Regions from separate parts of the Homo sapiens genome. Here all the other regions are linked to region 1. Evidence: promoter capture Hi-C in human tissues and cell types (Jung and others, 2019). All regions are on one chromosome and are shown on one strand. Each heading gives the region's core, a stretch centred on a gene start or on the middle of the fragment in contact. The rest is flanking DNA. Distances are from core to core; before and after follow the strand shown. Region 1 holds the start of HNRNPAB (heterogeneous nuclear ribonucleoprotein A/B). Region 2 holds the start of LOC128966623 (a long non-coding RNA gene). Region 3 holds the start of KIAA1191.

Region 1 (3,624 bases), core at 614-3,113:
CATAGGGAGACCCTGTGTTTACAAAAAATTCGCTTGGCGTGGTGGCCACGTTTCTGGTTCCAGCTACTTGGGAGGCTGAGGCAGGAGGCTCATTTGAGCCCGGGAGGTTGAAGCTGCAGTAAGCCGTGATCGTGCCACTGGACTCCAGCCTGGGTTACAGAACAAAACCTTGTGTCAAAAAATAAAATAAATAAAATTGGTGACCATACCACCTTACTTTGGTTGTTAAGATACAGAAGAGAAAATGGAATGCCCAGCCCACCACACTGGTCCTGGCTGCAGGAATCCACTGGAAACGCTAGTTCCTTGTGTTCTGGGTTGCTATTTGGTAACCTGCAGGCTCCAGAGGTTGTAATCCTGCTTGCCTTGGGGCCCACCACCCATATGATTAAAAGGAATAACGGGATTACCGAGGCCTTTAAAATTTTGTGGTCAAGGAGATAATATAAAGGAGTTTTGTGTATTAGGAAGAGAACAACGCCCCCACCCTGTCCTTTACCTCGTGAGTTCACGAGTGGTGTATTTGTTTTGTTTTGTTTTTGAGACGATGTCTCGCTCTGTCGCCCAGGCTGGAGTGCAGTGGCGAGATCTCGGCTCACTGCAAGCTCCGCCTCCCGGGTTCACGCCATTCTCCTGCCTCAGCCTCCCGGTAACTGGGACTACAGGCGCCCACCACCACGCCCGGCTAATTTTTTTGTATTTTTAGTAGAGACGGGGTTTCACCATGTTCGCCAGGATGGTCTCGATCTCCTGACCTCGTGATCCGCCCGCCTGGACCTCCCAAAGTGCTGGGAGTACAGGCGGGAGCCACCGCGCCCGGCCTCCGTATTTGTTTAAAAAAAAAAAAAAAAAAAAAAAGGCCGGGCGCGGTGGCTCACGCCTGTAATCCCAGTACTTTGGGAGGCCCAGGCGGGCGGATCACGAGGTCAGGAGATCGAGACCATCCTGGCCAACATGGTGAAACCCCGTCTCTACTAAAAAAACAAAAAAATTAGCCGGGCGTGGTGGCGCATGCCTGTAATCCCAGCTACTCGGGAGGCTGAGACAGGAGAATCGCTTGAACCCGGGAGGCGGAGGTTGCGGTGAGCCGAGATCGCGCCATTGCACTCCAGTCTGGGCGACAAGAGCAAGACTCCATCAAAAAAAAAAAAATAATAAAAAGGAAGAAAAAGAAAGACAAATGATTTACAGGAAAAAATTTAAGTAAACAAAAGTACAAATGCGATGTCAATCGTTCAGGTGGTGCCAGGGGACAGAGAACCGGGGAACACCAAGGTCTCATCGTCCCTGCAGAGCATCTCTGGGGGAGGCGACGGACAGGGCGCGAGCGCGGGGCTTGGAGGGCACCAAGGTCCAGGGGGATGGCGGGTTCAGTCCCAATCCCTCCGACCCGTGCTGAGGGCCTTGGAGGACCCCACTCGCCCAACCTCGGAAGCCCGGGTTCTGCCACTTCCAGCCACGCGTCCTTGGGCTGCGAAACTTTCTCCAGCCCAGTTTCCTCTTTTGGGACATGGGGAGGCGGAGGCTGCCAATGCTGGGATGGAGTCCTCGAGAGCAAGAGACCAGCGGCCTCGACGAGCTTACAATCCGATTAGGCCCTCCCACCGATGTGCTGTAGCTGCCCGCCGCCCTGGACCCGGCGCCGTCCCGCCCGGCTTCGGGAGCCCTCCGTAGCGGCCGGACTCGCGCGCGTTCTAAAATGAGGACAAAGCCCGCCCAGGTCTAGAGCGCGCGCGCCGTGGCGGCCAATGGGACGCTGAAGCTAGGTTGAGTGACGGACTTGAGCAGCCAATGAGTGTGCAGTTTGTTGCGATGTGGCACCCGGCTCCGGCATTATAAAGGGCGCCACGAGTCGGCATTGTCAGGCGGCGGCACCGCGCGGGACGGAGCTTGGCTGTTGGTCGGTGGGTTCCCGTGCGGCGGCGGCCAAGGAGGAGGAGACACAGTTGGAGCAGCTCCGTGGGCTGACTGGGGCGAGGCCTCAGCAGCGCGAGCTTGAGTGCGGCCGAGCCTGCGGCGCCTTCCCCTGCGGGTGGGGACGAGCGGGCCCCGCGGCGTCATCGGCGGCGAGGTGAGCGGCGGCCGGCGGGCGGGAGCTCTGGCGGGAGCCGCGCCGGCCTGACGCGCTGTCGCCGCTGGTTGCAGGAGCCGCCGCGCCTCGGCCTAGCATGTCGGAAGCGGGCGAGGAGCAGCCCATGGAGACGACGGGCGCCACCGAGAACGGACATGAGGCCGTCCCCGAAGGCGAGTCGCCGGCCGGGGCTGGCACGGGCGCCGCGGCGGGGGCTGGAGGCGCGACCGCGGCGCCCCCGAGCGGGAATCAGAACGGCGCCGAGGGCGACCAGATCAACGCCAGCAAGAACGAGGAGGACGCGGGGTAGGTGCGGCCGCGGGCGGACGGGGGCGCCGCCTTTGTTCCGGGGCCGCCTTTTGTTGGCGCCACGCGGCGGGGGGAGGGGCGGCGGCCTGGCCCGGGTCGGGGCTGGTGCGGCCCGCGGACTGTCGCCGCTGCGTTCGCGGGCCGGGCCTGGCGCTGCCACTCGCGCTGGAGTTTGCGGGAGTTTGTTGGGTCGACTTTGGCGCCGCCCCGGGGCCGCTCGCGCGCTGCCAGGGCCAGGGCCAGGGCCGGAGCCGGCGCAGGGGCGGGCGGATGGCCCGGAAGAGGGAAAGCGCTCGGACCCGGGGCCCGGCGGCGTCTTGGGCCGCGCCGGCGGCTGCGTGGGCGGAGTTGGCGCGAGCCGGGGCCCGGACCTCCCTCCTCCGCCTCTCCCGGGGGCGGAGTCACGGTCTGAACCCTGGGCGGGCTTGGTCCCCGGAAACATCGAGTTCCTTGAAACGAGTTCTCAGGAGTTGGTGGAGACGCTGGCCCTTTGCTACATGGTTGTAGAACACATGAATTTCCAGTTATGAGTGGTTAGGTCCCATACCCCTGGTGAGGTGGTCCCTTCTTTGCTTCTCACAGGCTGGGGCTGCAGAGCCTTGTTAAGCCTCGTTAGGGTCCTGGTTGAGTTCAATTTGGAGGGTAGTGGAGATTTAACATCTTTCTAAGGTGCTCCTTGCAGACTCTAAGGGTAGCTGTAGACTTCGTGAGAACTTTGCCAGGGCCAGTCCTTTCCAAAATCACAGCTTGCTTACAAGACTTGTTGCCGTGTGTCTCACCCTACCATTTCAGAAAAATGTTCGTTGGTGGCCTGAGCTGGGATACTAGCAAAAAAGATTTAAAAGACTATTTTACTAAATTTGGAGAGGTCGTTGACTGTACAATAAAAATGGATCCCAACACTGGACGGTCAAGAGGGTTTGGGTTTATCCTGTTCAAAGATGCAGCCAGTGTGGAGAAGGTAAGCTGGGTACTGGATTTCAGCAGTCTCAGTGGAAACGATTTGAATTCTAAGAGGACACCTTTCTTAAAGCATGACTAGTTTGTGTGGTCTGCATGTGATTTAAGTGCTTTGGGCAAAACCCAAAGCCGGAGGTTATGTTCCGGTTTTTGAGGGGATGAAAATACAGATTAAGCTGGGAGTGAGAGAATGTGCTGGAGTGGTTCGGGAAGATGACAGTTGACATTCATTACCTTTTATGTGCCTATTCTGGGTACGGCGCTAAACATCTGGGAGGATTACA
Region 2 (3,127 bases), core at 150-2,649, 1.3 Mb after region 1:
TTTGTTGAACACCATGAAACCAGCAGCTTTGCTGTCACCACCAGAGGGACTCACATGATTTGGAGAATTTTCAAATAGGGATATTGATGCAAACAAACAGGAAGGACCAGTAGCTCTGCTCTTCTCCTCAGAGACCAGAACCTGCCCAAACCACCCAGCATCACTGACAGATGACGGTTCCTGAGCTCATGCGAAGAGAAGACACAGCGAGGGGAGATGCCTGTGGAAAGCAGATGGCCTGAGCTGTGTGTGCACGCCCTAGTCCACGGGTAGATCCATCAGCAACAGTGGAAGCCTCACCGACTCAAGGTGTTCGTGTACAAATTCAGACAACTGTTGGCAGAATACCAAGCACGCAGATAAAGGAGCGGTTCCTGGGAAGCCATGCATAAGAAACAAACAAAAAATGAGCAGAGACGGCTCCGGATACACGCTGCTCACAGAATTTACAAATTTAGTACAGGCTGGTTACAAACAAACGAACAAACAGTAACAACTCTCAGCGGAAAAGATTCAGAATCCAGAGTTGAAGAGTCTATAACCTAAAGTATCCAGTGTTCAATGATAAGTTACAAGACAAAAAGAAACAGGCAAGTGTGGGGGAAAACTGTCTTTGTGTCCCCAGATGTCACACTTAGCAAACAAAGACTTCAAAGCAGTTACTTATGTTAAAAGAACTTAAAAAGGGCCAGGCACGGTGGCTCAATCCTGTAATCCCAGCACTTTGGGAGGCCGAGGCGAGCAAATCACCTGAGGTTACAGGTGCATGCCTGTAATCCCAGCTACTTAGGAGACTGAGGCAGGAGAATCGCTTGAACCTGGGAGGCAGAGGTTGCAGTGAGCCGAGATCACGCCATTGCACTCCAGCCTGGGCAACAAGAGCGAAACTCTGTCTCAAACAAAAAAGAAAAAGAAAAATGACTTATGAAACGTCAAGCACAACATATGTAGAATGAGAGTCTCAGAAAGAAAGAAAAGGGGAAAGAAAGAATTATTTATAGAAATAATGGCTGAAAACTTACCAAATTTGATATAAAACATTAATCTATAGAATCAATGTTTACTTTCAGTAAAATAAATACCAATATATCCACTCCTACACACCTTGTGTCAAGCTACGAAAACACAAAGAGCAAATATTGAAAACAGTAAGACAAAAACTTCTCCTCATGTACAAGAGCACCACGATAAAATTAGCCACTGATTTCTGATCAGAAACAATGGTGAGACCATGAACGGCAGCTCACGCCTGTAATCCCAGCACTTTGAGAGGCCAAGGCAGGTGGAATACCTGAGGTCAGGAGTTCGAGACCAGCTTGGCCAACATGGTGAAACCCCATCTCTACTAAAAATACAAAAATTAGACCAGGCGCGGTGGCTCCCGCCTGTAATCCCAGAGCTTTGGGAGGCCGAGGTGGGTAGATCACGAGGTCAGGAGATCAAGACCATCCTGGCTAACACAGTGAAATGCCATCTCTACTAAAAATACAAAAGATTAGCCAGGCGTGGTCGCAGGCGCCTGTAGTCCCACCTACTTGGGAGGCTGAGGCAGGAGAATGGCATGAACCCGGGAGGTGGAGGTTGCAGTGAGCCAAGATCTCGCCACTGCACTCCAGCCTGGGCGACGGAGTGAGACTCCATCTCAAAAAAAGAGAAAAAAAAAGAAAAAATTAGCTAGGCATGTTGGTGCACACCTGTAATCCCAGCTACTTGAAGGCTAAGGCCAGAGAATCGCTTGAACCTGGGAGGCAGAGTTTGCAGTGGGCTGAGATCACACCACTGCACTCCAGCCTGGGCAACAAACAGAGGGAGATTCTGTCTCAAAAAGAAAGAAAGAGAGAGAGAGAGAGAGAAATAGAAAGAAAGAAAGAAAGAAAGAAAGAAAGAAAGAAAGAAAGAGAGAGAGAGAGAGAGAGAGAGAGAGAGAAAGAAAGAAAGAAAGAAAGAAAGAAAGAAAGAAAGAAAGAAAGAAAAAGAATGAATGAATGAATGATGGGAAGGCAATGGGATGGCATAGTCAAAGAATGAAAGAAAAAAAATTGTCAACTAAAAATGCCATGTCCAGCAAATCTATCTTTTAAAAATAAAGATATTCCCAGATAAAGACAGAAAATTTGCTGCCAGCCATCCTACCTCATAAGAAACACTAAAAGAAAGCTTCTGAACTGAAAGAAAGGCTTGATTCTTCTATTTGAAAATACTGAATTGATTTGTCACAGGGTATGTGTGTATATGTGTGTGTGTGTATGTGTGTGTGTGTATGCCAAATATTCCAAAATTTCTCATGCACTTTAACTTTTATTGATTTTAGAAGCAAAAATATTGCAAATATATAAAAATATTCTTTGAAGGTTTAGTTCAATTTTATACTTTTTTAGTCCTATGAATTTTAATAATAAAGAATTGATTTAATTTTTGATTAAGTCTAGCTGAAGACAGTAAAGATTAATTGAAGCAAAAATTATAAAAATTTATTCAAAACTCACAATGATAAACAAGTATAAAAATGTAAGCTCTATGTCTGAGTTGAAGCAAGGCAAGAACATATTGTGTGGGGAGGTTAGAATTGCAGGCAGAGGAGACCCTGGAGCAATAATCCCTGGAAATAACAGGAATTTCGGGGACAAATCCAGATCCTCAAAAACTGTGAAACTGAGGGAGTCTGAGCAGAGTTCTCCAATGAACCAGGTATCATCTGTGTGCCAGGGTGAGAGGACGGAAAACGGGCCAGGTCTGTCTCTGACAGGTTGAGAAGGTGGAGTGGGAAGGAGGGATCCGGAAGGCCAGGAGGGTGGAGGGAACTGCAGGGGTGGGTGGTGGTGGGCGGGGCTGGGCTTTAGCCTCCTCCTCCCACTGCCCACCCCACCCTTAGGAGCCCTTTGTGAGGGGGAGGCCCCAGCTCTGTGATGTGGACCTGGGCCCCAGTAACTTGTCCCAGAGGGGATGCCCAGGGCTCAGCTGCCTGAGGACAGCAGTGCAGTTGACATGGATATTCTCTTTCCTCTGCACAGTGTTATTGAGACAGAGCTGTGCCCCAGCCCCATTCCCCAGATCATCCATTTCGTCCTCTTCATTGTGTTCAGCCTGGTGATCCTGATCATCTTATGCCCCTACATTCCCAGGGAGC
Region 3 (3,416 bases), core at 188-2,687, 1.8 Mb before region 1:
TTTGTATTTTTAGTAGAGATGGGGTTTCACCGCACTAGCCAGGATGGTCTTGATCTCCTGACCTTGCGATCCGCCCACCTCGGCCTCCCAAAGTGCTAGGATTACAAGCGTGAGCCACCGCGCCCGACCCCAGTTTTTTTTTTAAGCTATCTCTTACAGAAAGGCTATCCCAAATTTAAAGAGAAGGAAACTGGCCGGGTGCGGTGGCTCACGCCTGTAATCCCAGCATTTTGCGAGACCCAGGCGGGCAGATCACTTGAGGTCAGGAGTTCGAGACTAGCCTGGCCAACATGGTGAAACCCCATCTCTACTAAAAATACAAAAATTAGCCGGGCATGGTGGCGGGCGCCTGTAATCCCAGCTACTCGGGAGGCTGAGGCAGGAGAATAGCTTGAACCCGGGAGGCGGAGGTTGCAGTGAGCCGAGATCGAGCCACTGTACTCCAGCCTGGGCGACGGAGTGAGACTCGGTCTCAAAAATAAAAATTAAAAAAATTAAAAAAATGTTAAAAATAATAATAAAGAGAAGGAAACTAAAAATCAGAGGAGTTAAGTAAATTTGTCCACGGTCACAGATAAGTGGTCCGTGCGCAAGGTAGGTAGTTTCATGCCCAGTTTACAGGGGAGTTAAAACGAGGGCCTGAGAAAGTTACTCTTGTTTTTCAGCTTGCTACACCGTCCCTCTATCCCGATAGGACTCAGACAGAGCAAACAAGTTATTGATAGTTCTTCACTAACGAGCATCGCAAAGGCCGAATTCAGCCATCCTCCCAGTCCAGGGAGCATTCCCGCCCCAGACACGTCCCCTTCCCCTTTCCCTTTCCCTGTGCCCCCACCCCCCAGCTCACCGTCCCTCTGCCTCTCCTTCACAATATACAAGACGGTGCCGCCAGGATACGAAAGGCCGGCTGCTTCACCCACCCCTCCAGGCTAAGATTAGGGCCAGGACCCTAGCCGAAGGCGGGGTGTGGGGAGATGAGGTTGAGGACAAGCCGCGGGGGCTCGGGCTGGGCTGGTCCCACGAAGCGGAGGGGAAGCCCGTACGGGAGCTGCAGGGCATTCCCGGAGAGAAGCCCCATTACGGAGACCCCAGAGAGCGGAGCCAGGGAGGCAAGAGGCGACCCAGCCGAGCTCGAAGCCGGGATGAAGGGTTAAGAGGTGCGGGGAGAGGGGAGTGGCTTGGAGGGGCCCCGAGATCGGGCCTCGCCGGAAGCGCCCCTCCTGATCGCCAGAGAACGCAGCCCCAAGGGAGGGCCCAGGCCCGCCATCTGTTCACCTGTGATCCTGCTGCCGCGGGACTGCCTGCGGCCCGGAGTCCGGCACTAAAAAGGTTCCGAGGGCCCACGTCTCCCGAGAGGCTGTGGCGCAGTCTGGACCCAAGCCATTGTGAGAGCGGCGGCGATTTCGAAGGTCCCCAAGACCCACTAGGTAGCAGTACCACCCAGCGGGCAGGCAGCACTGCAGATAAAGCCTCCGGAGACCGCGGGATCTCGCGCGAGACTTGGCCCAGCGGAGCACAGGGCATGCTGGGAGTTGTTGTCCACGATCGCGAGACCCGCCCCCTCCCCATGCCCTTCGCCGCCCAGCGAGTTGTGGAGCCGCAGCTCCGAGTGTGGAATCCGCCAGCCCCGAGAGGAAACGCCACACTTCACCACCACTTCCTCAGCGCGTGTGCTGTGCCTGGGTCCGTGACAAGCTAAGGGAAGACGGAGGTAGCATAGTAAAATGACACCCACAAACCCAAGCCCTCAAGGCTCAAAAAGGGCTGCCAAGTGCGAGCACTTGTCATCCTGTTTTTCCCACTTCACGGAGGTGAAGCTGAGACTGGGAGAGATGAGAAGTCACTTCGATTAGCAAGCGGTGCAGTGAGCACGGACTGTCTCCCAAAACAGCGGGGTTAGGCAGGGTTCGTACTAGTAGCTGAACCAAAAAAGGGAACCGACCTCACCTGCCTCCCCTAGGGAAGGCGATCCTAATATCATTTCTCTTTTACATAAAGGAGAGTGAGGCTTAGAGGCGCCAGCTGAGGTGTCAGTCACATCCTGAAGGAAGACTTCTCTTATCCCTGAAGGGTTCACAAAGAAGGCGAAGCAACGAAGTTACAGCAGAATTTGCAAAAATCTATCCACGTTTCTACCCCAGTCCAAAGCTCGCCATCAAAACTCATCTCAGGAGAGCTATGATTGGTGGTGCAGGGTGAATGTCACATTTAGATTTCAGCATTTGAGGCTTCCAGCCGTACTGGCAGAACTGAGAGGCCTTGCTCATGCGACTTGAAACTTAAGCGCTGTTTCCAGACCAGGGTGCTTGAGTGCACTAAGAATTAAAGTCTTTGATGAATTCTATAATTAGCTTATCAACAGCACAATTACATTGCAGTATAATTGTGTGTATATGTGTGCGTGCGTGTGTGTGTTAAAGGTGTTCCTTTGTTAATTTGGAGCTTTTAAAATATGCCATATTTTTTAACCTCTGTGGAAGCAAAGCTGGCACCTTGCTCTTTATCCACCACAGGAAGGGATGTATATCACCTCTCAGTCAGAAAAGGAAGAAATAGCACTTTGCACCCTTATGTAGATCATAAGGTGGGATCATCTCATTTATTTCTTAGCCACAAATACATGAAAACTTAAGACTTTCCTGGAAGTTACTATTTGATTAAAACAACTTTTTCTGGCTGGGCACGGTGGTTCAGGCCTGTAATCCCAACACTTTCAGAGGCTGAGGCGTTCGAGACCATCCTGGCCAACACGGCGAAACCCCGTCTCTACTAAAATACAAAAATCAGCCAGGCGTAGTGACAGGTGCCTGTAATCCCAGCTATTCTGGAGACTGAGGCAGGAGAATCTCTTGAACCTGGGAGACGGAGGCTGCAGTCTGCCTTGTCCTAGGTACCCCCAGTGACTGCCAAGGCTTCCACGTGTGTAGCACGAGGAGGAAGAACAGGAGAAACGACCTGAGTACAGCAGTCGGGTTCTTTTGGCTCTCCAGAGGGGTGACGCCATGTACGGCTGGCTGTAGGGTACATGGGTTGAGAGACCGCCTGTGGCTCTCAGGGCCCAGCAGGGCTACCTCTTTCCCTTTATATTGTCTCAACTCTTCACCTCCTTTTAGTTCGCGATTCCTCTGTACCCCTGGCTCTGGGTCCCAGCCCCTATTCCTTCTGATTTGTCCCCCTTTCCCTTTGACTACATATATATGCTCCTCTCCTCCCAGATAGTGATGTTTTAGCTACATCTTATTTCTTCCGGCATTGATTCTTTTGAAAAATTTATTTCTGGCTGGGTGTGGTGGCTCATGCCTGTAATCCCAGCACTTTGGGAGGCCTGAGATCACACTACTGCACTCCAGCCTGGGCTACAGAGTGAGACTCCATCTCAAAAAAAAAAAAAACTTTATCCCTGATATTTGTGGTAC

What was found. Contacts are between HindIII fragments. The study calls those that stand out against the background at their distance.
Region 2: a contact is called between a fragment that was not itself captured here and the fragment with the promoter of HNRNPAB in region 1, in 1 of the 25 tissues and cell types used here (lymphoblastoid cells).
Region 3: a contact is called between the fragment with the promoter of KIAA1191 here and the fragment with the promoter of HNRNPAB in region 1, in 1 of the 25 tissues and cell types used here (spleen).

Annotation. Positions count from the first base shown.
Region 1 is chr5:178,202,670-178,206,293 of GRCh38, forward strand. It overlaps HNRNPAB (heterogeneous nuclear ribonucleoprotein A/B), which reads left to right and starts at 1,864. Exons shown (of 8, transcript NM_031266.3): 1 at 1,864-2,071; 2 at 2,146-2,377; 3 at 3,173-3,341. The coding sequence starts at 2,169. RefSeq lists silencers at 1,678-1,747, 2,048-2,267, 2,288-2,397, 2,428-2,837. The HindIII fragment of the contact is 21,768 bases long and covers 1-3,624 here.
Region 2 is chr5:179,519,540-179,522,666 of GRCh38, forward strand. It overlaps LOC128966623 (a long non-coding RNA gene), which reads left to right and starts at 2,918. Exons shown (of 5, transcript NR_185480.1): 1 at 2,918-3,127. It overlaps LOC100289470 (chromosome 5 open reading frame 60-like), which reads left to right and starts at 2,957. Exons shown (of 4, transcript NR_171571.1): 1 at 2,957-3,127. The HindIII fragment of the contact is 4,239 bases long and covers 1-3,127 here.
Region 3 is chr5:176,360,327-176,363,742 of GRCh38, forward strand. KIAA1191 reads right to left here and starts at 1,438. Exons shown (of 9, transcript NM_020444.5): 1 at 1,276-1,438. RefSeq lists an enhancer at 1,194-1,513. The HindIII fragment of the contact is 20,486 bases long and covers 1-3,416 here.